Linked DNA regions of Homo sapiens: region 1 is linked to region 2. The links are contacts of gene promoters, found by promoter capture Hi-C in blood cells and fetal thymus (Javierre and others, 2016). All regions are on one chromosome and are shown on one strand. The core of a region is centred on a gene start or on the middle of the fragment in contact, and the rest is flanking DNA. Distances in the headings are between cores, read along the strand shown.

Region 1 (5,670 bases), core at 1,180-3,679, 380 kb after region 2:
TCCCCATTTTTGAACTAGGAAACTAAGGCTCAGAGAAGTTCAGAATTTGTCCAAGGCCACACAGCTAGAAAATGTCATAACTGAGATTTGAATCCAGACTTTCTGACTCCCGGTTCACCTCAGTTACTTGTTCTATAAAAAGATTTTATATTTTTGTCCTTCATGTAGTTTACCCCCAAGAACAGGTAAGCCTTAAAGATGAGACCAGAATTAACTGCCCTTTTCCTACAAACTTTCAGCTTTCAAATCTGTACCTGTTGATGAGAGAACCTCCAGGTTTGTCCCCTACTACCAATGATGAGGCAAACACAGAGAGAGGAACCCCTTTGACTAAAGCTGAATTGTAAAGGACTAAAGCCCTAACTTCTCTTCGAATGACCTGCATTCAAATCAAGTAAGCAGCTGTTCAAAGAATTCAGTCGGAGGTATGACTTGTGCAGTGAGAGTTGAAAACGCAAATCCTGTTCTGTACCTCCCTGTTTAAAGCATTGCACTGGCTCCTCGTTGCCTTCAGGATAAAGTCTATATTCCCTCCACATCTCCTTCCCTACTCCTCCAGCATTCTGACTGGCTGAGCCAACTACTCTTACCCCAGTACAGACAACCTAACTTTGCAGAACTACTCACAATTCCTAAACACCATCGAGGATCAAGCCTCTGCCTTTTTCCCTTCAACATTTTACTATGAAAATTTTCAAAAATAAAATTTTAAAAATTTACAAGTGAATACTTCTCTATCTAGACACTAAAATTAATATTTTCCTGTATTTGCTTTATCATGTATCAATTCATTTATCCATCCCATTTTTGTGCATTTCAAAGTAAGTAGTAGATATCTGCATACTTACCCCTAAATGCTTCAGCATGCATATTATTAACTAGAGTTCCAAATTTGTTTCCAGTTCTTTTTTTCTTTCGTATGTAAAATTAACATACAATGAAATTTTTTCCCATTGTATGTAAAATTAACATACAACGAAATGCACAAATATTAGAGGCAGTGTATTAGTATCCTTGCTATGGTAACAAATCACCACATACTTAGTGTCTTTAAATGACATACATTTATTCTCTTGGAAGTCCAAAATCAGTCTGGCTGGGCCAAAGTCAAGGTGTAATCAGGGCTGGCTTCTTCTGGTATCTCTGAAGGGACAATCTGTTTCCTTGCCTTTTTCACCTTCGAAAGCATTCCTTGGCTCATGACCCCTTCCTCACATCACCAACCTCTTGCTTTCATAGTTACCTCTCCTACTCACTCTGATCCCCTGCCTTCTTCTTATAAAGACTGTGATTACATCAGTTCCACATGGATAACGCAGGATAATCTCCCATCTCAAGATTCTTAGTTTAATCGCATCTGCAGAGTCCTTTTTGCCATGTGAAACAACATATTCACAGCTTCCAGGAATCAGGATGTGACCCTCTTGGAGAGCAATTATTCAGCCTACCACATGCACATCTAATGAGTTTTTACAAATGCATACATTTGTGTGACTCAAACTCCCAGCAAGATAGCCTTACCATCACCCCCAGAACATTCTCATGCCCCTTCCCAGTCTGTCCCAGTCTCACCCTCACCCCCTAGAGCCAGCCACTGTTCTTTTTGCCTCTTCAGAACTTCCTATAGATGGCGTTATCTTGCAAATACCTGGTATGGTGTCTGGCATGTAGTAAGTGCTCAGGAAAGGACTTCATCTTTTGAATCTGACTTCTCTTACTTGACACAATGTCCTGAAGACTCATCCATGCTGCGTGTATCAGTCTCAGTCTGTTCCTTTTGATTGCAGAGTAATATTCCATCAAATAGGCCACAATCAGATAGTTCCCTTATTCATCCATTCTCCTGTTGACAGACTCCAGACTGCTTCCAGTTTTTGTGCTTTTTTGTTTTTGTACAAATCTATGGGGTACATGAGAAAACTTGTTACTTATGTGTAATGTATAGTGATCAAGCCAGGGTATTCCAGGTGTCCATCACCCAAGTACAATACATTTTGTTAAGTATGGTCACCCTCCTCTGCTATCAAACATTGAATTTATTCCTTCTATCTAACTGTATATTTATATGCTTTAACCCACTTCTCTTTGTTGATGGCTGCTGTGAAACCTCAGTTCTTGTGTTCCTAGTTTAAAGGAATTTAAACAGGAGACACACAGCAAAGGAGATGCAGTGTAGAGCAATTTATTGCAAAGGAGGAAGAATACCCTGAAAGTTAGGTGCAGAATAGACAGGATGCCCCAAGAGGGATTCAGGGTGGGCTGCCTATGAGGATGAGATAGCAAAGACCCACTTGAGGGAGACTCCCTTTATCGAAGGCTTACCTGATTATTCATGAGGGGGTGGGAAACTGTGTTGCTAGGAAGCATGTTCTGGGATGGGTGCACATGTGCAGTACCTGTACATGCTTGTTCATACATTGCATGTGTCATTAGCACCCTAAATCTCCAACCAGGGGTGTTTTTTATTATTATATTGAGCAAAGGGTCAGTCTGAGGACAGGTAAAATCAAAATGTGCATGCTCTCTACAGGGGAAATTCCCTACTGGAGACAGCTTTGCTGAATGAGCTTGACTGCAGTGCGAATGCTGGGGCTTATTGTGGTGACTATGAGGTCACCAAGGTTGCCAAATCCCAAGGGCATAGTAACTTCCTTGACTAACTGTCCTGCCTCATCTTCATCCTCCCCCTTTCCCCAGACTCACACTTCCCAGTCTCTGTTCTTTATCTTTCCACTCTCTACCTCCATCTCTGTTCTCTATCTTTCCACTCTCTACCTCCATATGATCAAATTTTTTAGCTCCCACATATAAGTGAGAATGTGTGATATTTGCCTTTTTGTGCCTGACTTATTTCACTTAAGATAATGGCCTCCAGTTCCATCCATGTTGCTGCAAATGACATGTTTCATTCATATAGGCTTGTCATATATGGTCTTTGTTATTTTAAGTATGTTCCTTTTATAGCTAGTTTGTTGAGAGTTTTTATGTAAATTGTATCAATTTTTATCAAAAATTTTTATCAGAAATTTTATCAAATACTGTTTCTGCATTTATTGAGATGATCATATGGTTTTGTCCTTCATTCTGTTGATGTGATGTATCCCATTTATTGATTTGTATATGTTGAACCATCTTTCCATCCCTGGCATAAATCTCACTTAATCATGGTGTATTATCTTTTTTTTTGTTTTTTTTTTTTTGAGACAGAGTCTTGCTCTGTCCCCCAGGCTGGAGTGCAGTGGCACGATCTTGGCTCACTGCAACTTCCACCTCCCTGGTTCAAGCAATTCCCCTGCCTCAGCCTCCAGAGTAGCTGGGATTACAGGCACCCACCACCACGCCCAGCTAATCTCACTTTTGTTTTGGCTGCTCAACCTCTACTTCTTATCTCACTTCTTGCTCACTTGCCCCTTCACCTTGCATTGTTAGATTGTTAATTTTAATGTTTCTACTTTTTGATGGAACAATTTATTGCTATAAATTTCCCTCTTAGCACTGCTTTTACTTTTCTCACAGGTTTTGGTATGTTGTGTTTCCATTTTCATTTCTTTCACGGAACTGTTTTTATTTCCATCTTAATTTCTTATTGACCCAATGGTCATTCAGGAACATGTTGTCTAATTTCCATGTATTTGTGTAGTTTCCAATGTTCCCTCCTTGTATTGATTTCTAATTTTATTCCATTGTGCTCTAAGAAGATAATTGATATGATTTTGGGAAATTTGTTGAGGCTTATTTTGAAGCCTAACATGTGGTCTATCCTGGAGAATGTACCACGTGCTGATGAGAAGAATGTATATTCTGTAGTTGTTGGATAGAATGTTCTGCAAATTGTTAGGTCCCTTTGTCTATAGTGCAGTTTAAATCTAATGTCTCTTTGTTGACTTTCTGCCTAGATGATATATGTCCAATGCTGAGAGTGGGGGTCAATCTTTGTGCTTCCCAACCTGCTGCTGAGGTTGCTCCTTTGGCCTGTAATAACCTCACCACTAGCATCTGTTCCCCTCACAAAGAATCAGTCACCCTTGTCAGCCTCATTATACCCAGTACAAAGGCCACCTGCTCTGGGAAACATTTCCCAAACCACTGCCCCACCCTGGGTGACTGGACCACTCCCTCCTCCATGCCCTGTACATACCTCGCTCTCTGCACCTGGCCCTTTTATGACCCTTACTTGTTTACTTGACCCTTACTTGAGGACATCTGACTCTACTCACTCTAGTTCATGCCCCCCAGGGCACAGCCAGGGCATTTCATATCTGTGTCTGCACAGCAAGGGCAGTATAGTGTGGTAGGGCTGTGCAGCTCTGAAAGCACTGCCAGGGTGGGTTGAGATCTTGGTTCTCATTTCTTTTTTTTTTTTTTTTCTTTTTGAGATGGATTCTCACTCTGTTGCCCAGGATGGAGTGCAGTGGCACAGTCTCGGCTCACTGCAGGCTCCACCCCCGGGTTCACGCCATTCTCCTGCCTCAGCCTCCCGAGTAGCTGGGACTACAGGCGCCCGCCACCATGCTCGGCTAGTTTTTTTGTGTTTTTAGTAGAGACAGGGTTTCACCATATTAGCCAGGATGGTCTTGATCTCCTGACCTCCTGATCTGCCTGCCTCGGCCTCCCAAAGTGCTGGGATTACAGGCGTGAGCCACCGCGCCCAGCCGGTTCTCACTTCTTCATATGTAATCTGATGACCCTCACAGGGTCATTGTGAGGAGTGAATAAAATATACACGTGAAGCACTTAGCACAGTGCCGGGCACAGAATCTGCATCTGATTCAACTGGGGCATAAATGGATGAAGGAACTTGTTAAATAATGACACAATGGCCGCCTTGGATTCTTTGCATTCTCGTTGGAGTGAGAAATCTCCTTTTTCTGAAAACTGACCTGAATGTGGAGGACAGACAAGTAGTGACTCTTGGCTCTGCAATCCATGAGAAGAGCTGCTGGCTTATATCCATAACTTATTTTGAGTTTTATTCAAGGACACAGAAGTCCACTTCTTCTTGGAGGAAGGACAGAATTTAGTCCAATGTCTGAGAAGCTTTAATAGGCTGCCAGGGAAAAGAATTATGAGCTGCCTCTTTCTCTGGGACATATGTGCCATTGTTTTCCTCTCAGCACAAAGACTTTGCTGTGCCCTGGGGTAGGGGCTTTGCTTCACTGTGAAACTGGCTCCAACATAGACCTTGAGATTGCTAAATGTTCTCATTCTGAGCTAATCTGGAGCCTAAAGAGGTTAACAATCCAGCAACAACGAAGAAGAATATTTTGATGGAATTTCTCCTTGTCTTTGCCATATATTATATGCCTTTTTTCAGAGTACACTATTCATCAAGAACTTGAGCTTCTCGAACACTATATTTTGGTTATAGACTTTTTTATTGCTTTTTTATGATTATAAAAATAAATACATGCCCATTGGAGAAAGCTGGGAAAAATGGAAAAGTATAACAAAAAGACAAAAATTACCCATAATTTCACACCCCAGAGATAACCACTGTTAATATTTTTGTGTGATCTTTTCACTAGTGATAGATAGATAAACAAATAAGTAGACTGACATACAAATGCATTAGGCACATTTTTCCCACAAGTGGAAAAACACCAATAATTAGATTTCTTGGTCCAACAAGCCTAGTTGTTTGTTTGTTTGTTTTGTTTTGTTTTTGAAATG
Region 2 (5,998 bases), core at 2,407-4,906:
CAGCAAGAGTGCAGGCTGGAAGAAAGTCATTCTTTATCATCTCATTGGCCCTTGGATGGTGTCGAGAAGATTTAGAAATATTTTTATCCTCTTTATTTTTAGTCGTTTTCAGTGAGAGGATTGGCATGAAGAATCCTTGGGACACAGGAATCAATCAAGACCTTTGGATGCCCCTGCCTGCTCTGTCTCTAGAAGCCTCAAGCCCAGCATCCCCATGCCGACGTGCTCATCTCTAGCAAAACACCAGCCTCTCAGCCCTCTCTCCATAAAGGCCACTAGAAAGTACTGTGATGCCAGGCTGCTCCACATCCAGGCAGCCTGGGTGACCACTGCCCTTTATGAGAATCAGAAAAAGCTGTCTCCCGAGTAGTTGGAATTACAGGTGCATGCCACCATGCCTGGCTAATTTTTGTATTTTTAGTAGAGATGGAGTTTCACTATGTTGGCCAGGCTGCTCTTGAACTCCTGACCTCAAATGATCCACCCGACTCGGCCTCCCAAAGAGCTGGAATTACAGGAGAAGCTAAACGTTTTAAAATAAGTATATTATTTCTGAATTACTATAACAGACATGGACTCCATTTGAACAAGATACTTAATTCCATCAAAAACTTGTCAAAATATACAAATTTAGTCACAAGACACTTTACTACCATCTACCAAAGCTGTAGTAAACACACACATTTTCCATCTTTGAAATGAAATAACGTATAATAATGTTTTCCAAAATAACAAAGATGTCTGCAGTGAATAGCACTCCCTTTGATGTGGCAACTGGGTCAATCGTGTTAACAACTGTGAATTCATCTTTTTAAGAAATTCTTTTATTGTTTCTTTTCTTTTCCGCGACAGTCTCACTCGTGTTGCCCCGGCTGGAGTGCAGTGGCGCTATCTTGGCTCACTGCAGCCTCCGCCTCCCGGGTTCAAGCAATTCTCATGCCTCAGCCTCCTGAGTAGCTGGGATTATAGGCACGTGCCACCACACCCAGCTAATTTTTTTGTATTTTTAGTAGAGACGGGGTTTGACCATGTTGGTCAGGGTGGTCTCGAATTCCTGACCTCAGTTGAGCCGCCGGCCTCGGCCTCCCAGGAAGTGCTGGGATTACAGGCATGAGCCACCAGGCCCGGCCTTATTGTTTCTATTTGTAATAAATCTGTTCCCCTTGCTGCTGTCTCTGCGTTAGTTCTCCTCATTTCTAGCTTGGGTGCTGCAGCAGCCTCTGACCGGTCCTTCTGTCTCCAGCCTGACTGCGTTTTCTCGCACCTGCTGGGCTGTCTTAGGGCCCCGATGCCGGTGGCGTTTGCCATTCTCCGTCTGCCTGAGGCGTCCTCCCTCCGTCATCTGACAGGCAAATGTTACAGCCCTTCAAGACTTAGGCATTACCTTTCCCGCGCGGCCTTCCCTTCACTGTGCCTTACAATCTTCTCCATGGCAGGACATAGTGAAACTCCGTCTCTACCACTCCGTCAGTACCTGCCACAGGAAATGGCGGGTTTACGGATTTGTTTATAAGTTTATTTCCCCAATTGGTTGTTTTTCCATCTTGCGGGGTTTACATCGTCTCCTCCTCACTTGCGTGGCAGCCTGGACGCATCTCTATCACAGCACATTACCTCGTTTCGTGACCACAGCGTAGTCTCTTCCCCATCCTCAGACTGAGTTAGGGCCCCTTTGAGTCAGGTATTTGCCTTGCTAATCTTTGTGCCCTCTGTGTCTAATACGGTGCTTGGTCCTGGTAGATTTCTCCTTGCTTGCATAACATGTGTCTTCCTGGCTTATTCGATTTCTGGAAGTCTAGAACTTCTCCCCAGTGTTTCACCTGCCTGCTGAGTCAGGGCTCTCGGCCCGCTGGGGAGCATTTTGCTGCACTTGTCATTAGCCACAAAGCCACTAGGGGGCAGGGAGCCCCCATCCTGCCTCAGATCGGTGCCAAACCAGAACCCGGCAGCCTGCCTTCTGCACGGAAATCAATTCTCTAGGAGCTGATTTGCTGAAAGATCATTTTGCAAAATGGTCAACTCAGCAAATAATCGACTTGCTGAATCTTTGAGGAGTTATTTGCAGCTTCAGTTTTACTTAGAGCAATCCCTGGATGCTTAATATTTCATTTAAGAATGAGTGAGCCTTTTCTTCTCTATTTTGGGGAAACAGTTTCTTGCTGAGCCTCTGCCTCTGTTAGTACCCCAGCGGGGATGAACTGCAGTACCTGGCTTCGGGTTTTTGTCTTTTCATTATAATGAGTTGGTTTTATGTGCGTTGACCTACTGTAAAGGAAGGGTGGGGTTCTTCCAAAATAGATCCTCTTTCAATGAGGAGACAGGTAGAGTGGGACATGGGAAGGGCTTTGTCAGCTTTCCCCATCAAGATGTGTCCTGTGTGTCCCCAAAGCTCTTCTTGAGCCATCCCAGCATAACCAGGGTTTCCCTCAGGTTCATAACAAGGTAGAGCAGTCCTCAAGGCTGGCGCATGAAGACCAGTCCAGGGGGAGGGTGGATCCCTCGGGATGTGATAGGCTGACAGCAGCTCCCCAAAGCCTGTGGTTTTGACTACTGTAGAGACTTCATATCTGAAGCATGCCCCTCTACTTCAGCCACCCCCACTGCTCCTCCTTCTGCGGGGTCCCTTTGGAAAGCTTAGCACCACCTCAGACATTTGGAAAACTAACTTGAGCTCCAGTCCCTCGAGGCCCTAGCCTCTGCATCCTGTGAAGAGGGCCCTGCTGTGCAGAGCGCAGAGGGTCCCGCACTCACTTGGATGAACCTCTAGGGCATTCTGCTCAGTCTCAGGAGGGCAGACACTGTGGGACTCCACTCACATGAGTATCTGACGTTGCCAAAAATCATAGAAACAGGCCGGGTGTGGTGGCTCACACCTGTAATCCCAGCGCTTTGGGAGGCTGAGGCAGGTGGATCACTTGAGGTCAGGAGTTCAAGACCAGCCTGGCCAACATGGTGAAACCCCGTTTCTACTAAAAATACAAATATTAGCCGTGTGTGGTGGCGGGAACCTGTAATCCCAGCTACTCGGGAGGCTGGGGCAGGAGAATTGCTTGAACTCGGGAGGTGGAGGTTGCAGTGAGCCGAGATCACACCATTGCACTCCAGCCTGGGCGACAGAGCAAGACTCTGTCTCAAAAAAAAAAAAAAAATCATAGAAACGGAAAGTAGAACGGTGGTTACCCGGGCTGGGGTTCGGGGAGGTGAGTTGGGGTGTAATGGGGAGAGTTTGGGTGCTGCAGGATGAAAAGTCCTGCAGATCTGGCACACAACCATGTGAATGTACTTTCTACTGTGGGCTATACACTTAGAAATGGTTAGGATGGTACTATTAATGTTACATCATTTTTACCCTAGTAAACATTTTTTAAGAAGTCTTCCTCCGTGTTTGACTTCCTTATGAAGTAGAGACCAGGTAGTTTGGACACTATGTTCTTTCACAAAAGGGATTTCATTTTGTGAAATATTTGAAAGCATCGAAGTCTAGCATTTCACGTTTTGCAAGCTGGGGAAAAGCATTCATTCCCTGAGAAGCAGCGTTGGTCTGTCAGGCTTGGAGTTCCCCGGGTTGTGGGTTTTAGGGAAGGGAAGGGAAGCGAGGAAGGACTTGTGAGAGGAAGTCCTAAAGGCCACTTAAGGGCACACAGAGGCCCGGAGCTGGCTTTGCTCAGAGCTTGTAGCGGCGCCACAATCTCTGTCCTCTCAGGAACAGGAACTGGCTTGACGTCCTTTTCCTGCCCTATCCAAGCCCCTGTTCTTGCAGCCCTTCTGAAGCTCAGCCTGGCACCGGCCCCGGCGCCCCAGCCCCTGGCCAAGCCTCTGCTGTCATTTCTCCTCCCTCCTCTCAGTCTGCAGCTGCGGGACGGGCCGGGCTCCTCAGTTTCTGCTGTGTTGTGACCCCACGAGGCGCTCAGCACCCAGGGAAGGCGCGTGTGTCCCCGATGCTGGCTCCTCCCTGAGCCCCGACGGCTCTCGAGGTTCTGAGCCTGTGGCCTGCACAGGGAACTTCCTCTCCGACTGCATTTATGCCTCTGTGGATGTGAAGGCTATTTCTAGAAATCTCTTCCTTTGCAGAAACACCCGAAACCCTCCTGCCAGGAAGACCAGGGCCTGGGAAGAGGGTCGCTCTCCGGCCATTCTCCCCTCACCCTCCTCACCTTCCTCACATCCTGTGCCCTGGGGGACCAGCAGCTGCTTCCACCCAGGTGAGAGATGGAGGGATAGAGCCAGGTGGATTGCGGAGCCTCGGAGACTGTGGGACGCCGTGGGACCCCATGGGACACGACCGCAGTGCATGTGTGACATGTGCACTCGTGTGTAGATGTGTGTGCACTGGTGCATGGCTGTGGGGGAGGATGGGCTTGGCACCGGGAAGGCAGCCTGCTCAGCCATGGGAGAGGAGGCTGGGTTGAATGGCAGGGTTGAATGGCAGAGTTGAATGGCAGGGGCCCTGGGAAGCTTTCCTCCTGGTCCAAAGCGTGTCTCCCCAGCCTGCTGGGGAGTAGATTCGGCAGGATGGGGACAGAGGCATATTCCCAGACATCTATGAGAGTGGCTGTCCTAAAAGAAGGCGTGTCGGGGAGTGGGTGTGAGCCCTGAAGAGGAGGAGGGCTGAGACTGGCAGAAGGGAGGAAGAAGCAGGCGGAAGCAGCCGGTCAGATGCCCCATGAAGCTAGATGGTGCCGCAGAGCAGCCCCCAGGAGGAAGCCAGCGGAGCTCCTCCCGCAAAGCAGGGGGTGGGGGATGCTGATTTTTCCACGTCTGCTTTTCTGATCTTTCCTGCCCCTTGCACAGTTAGGATTCTGTGAACTGGGCATTGGAGGGATTGGAGGGGTCAAGACCTTACCAAAAGCAATATTTCTGATTTCACCTACATTTCAGCCAACCTGGTCCTCAGCAGTTAACCTCTTCCCTTCCTCTTGATGGTTGCCCTGCTGGGCTGGGTCTAAGGTCTTCCCCACGCTGGGCTCTGGAGGCATCTCCAACCACCCTGCTCTGTAAGTGGGAACTGCGATTAGATGTGGGATGAATCCCCGCATGGCTGGATGCTGTGCTCAGATGCCTGAGTCCACGTTTGCCTTGGGCTGTTTCCTGAGAAGGAGGCAGAGGCTGCCTTTACAGTCTTCAGTGAATTATAGGAAGAACGCTCTCTTTTTCTCTCAGTTGCTCTGCTGGGGTCTCCAGAGTGGCCTGGGAAATTGAGCAGAGGGAAATGTGGGCTGGCAGAGCGTGAGTGAGGGTGAGTTTGGGTACCTTTTTGTCCTTAAGTGCACTTTCTACATGTTGGGGTGAAGTGCTACTGGCTGGGAAGCTGTATGTGTGGTAGGAGTGTGCATGTGCGTGTGTGTATGTGGGTGTGTGTGTGTAGGTCCTGACATCATGTGGAGCTGCAGGCAGGAGTCCAGCCAAGACTCATTGGTTTGGTCATACTCTGCTGGGGAACCATGCAAGGCTGTGTCGCTTAATTGGGAAAGAAATTTCTTTCTTCTTCAGACCTGTGGGAGGCCTCTGCTTCCTTCAGCTTGCTGTTTTCTCACTAGTGTCTTTTTTTCTTAAATTAATTTACAGAGACATCTCACTTCACTTGCATATATATGTGTGTGTGTATGTATATATGTATATATATGTATATATGTATGTATATATGTATATATGTGTATATATGTATATATATGTGTGTATATGTGTGTGTGTGTGTGTGTGAGATATATATATATATATATATATATATATATATATACATGCGAGTGGAACTACAGGCACCCACCACCATGCCTGGCTAATTTTTGTACTTTTAATAAAGACGGGGATTTCATCATGTTGACCAGGCTGGTCTCAAACTCCTGATCTCGAGGGATCTACCTGCCTTGGCCTCTGAAAGTGTTGGGGTTACAGGCGTGAGCCACTGCGCCCGGCCTCCCTCTCAGTTCTAAAAACCGTTTTTCTTCTTTTCTTCACATTTCTGTCTCTCCTGTGATCGTTCATTCCTTTACCTCCACGT

Evidence for each region. The method cuts DNA at HindIII sites, captures the fragments that hold promoters and counts their contacts. A CHiCAGO score of 5 or more calls a contact.
Region 1: a fragment that was not itself captured here is called in contact with the fragment with the promoter of GIMAP8 in region 2 in 1 of 17 cell types (M2 macrophages); the score reaches 6.0 in M2 macrophages.

What each region holds. Positions count from the first base shown.
Region 1 is chr7:150,827,009-150,832,678 of GRCh38, forward strand. It overlaps LOC105375567 (a long non-coding RNA gene), which reads right to left. Exons shown (of 5, transcript XR_928171.3): 3 at 1,649-1,900. LOC124901775 (a long non-coding RNA gene) reads left to right here. Exons shown (of 3, transcript XR_007060591.1): 2 at 240-425. Among named protein-coding and RNA genes, the nearest start is that of AOC1, 23 kb to the right of the region's middle. The HindIII fragment of the contact is 5,212 bases long and covers 1-5,035 here.
Region 2 is chr7:150,446,974-150,452,971 of GRCh38, forward strand. GIMAP8 (GTPase, IMAP family member 8) reads left to right here and starts at 3,657. Exons shown (of 5, transcript NM_175571.4): 1 at 3,657-4,202. LINC00996 (long intergenic non-protein coding RNA 996) reads left to right here. Exons shown (of 4, transcript NR_034033.1): 4 at 103-1,167. The HindIII fragment of the contact is 1,822 bases long and covers 2,632-4,453 here.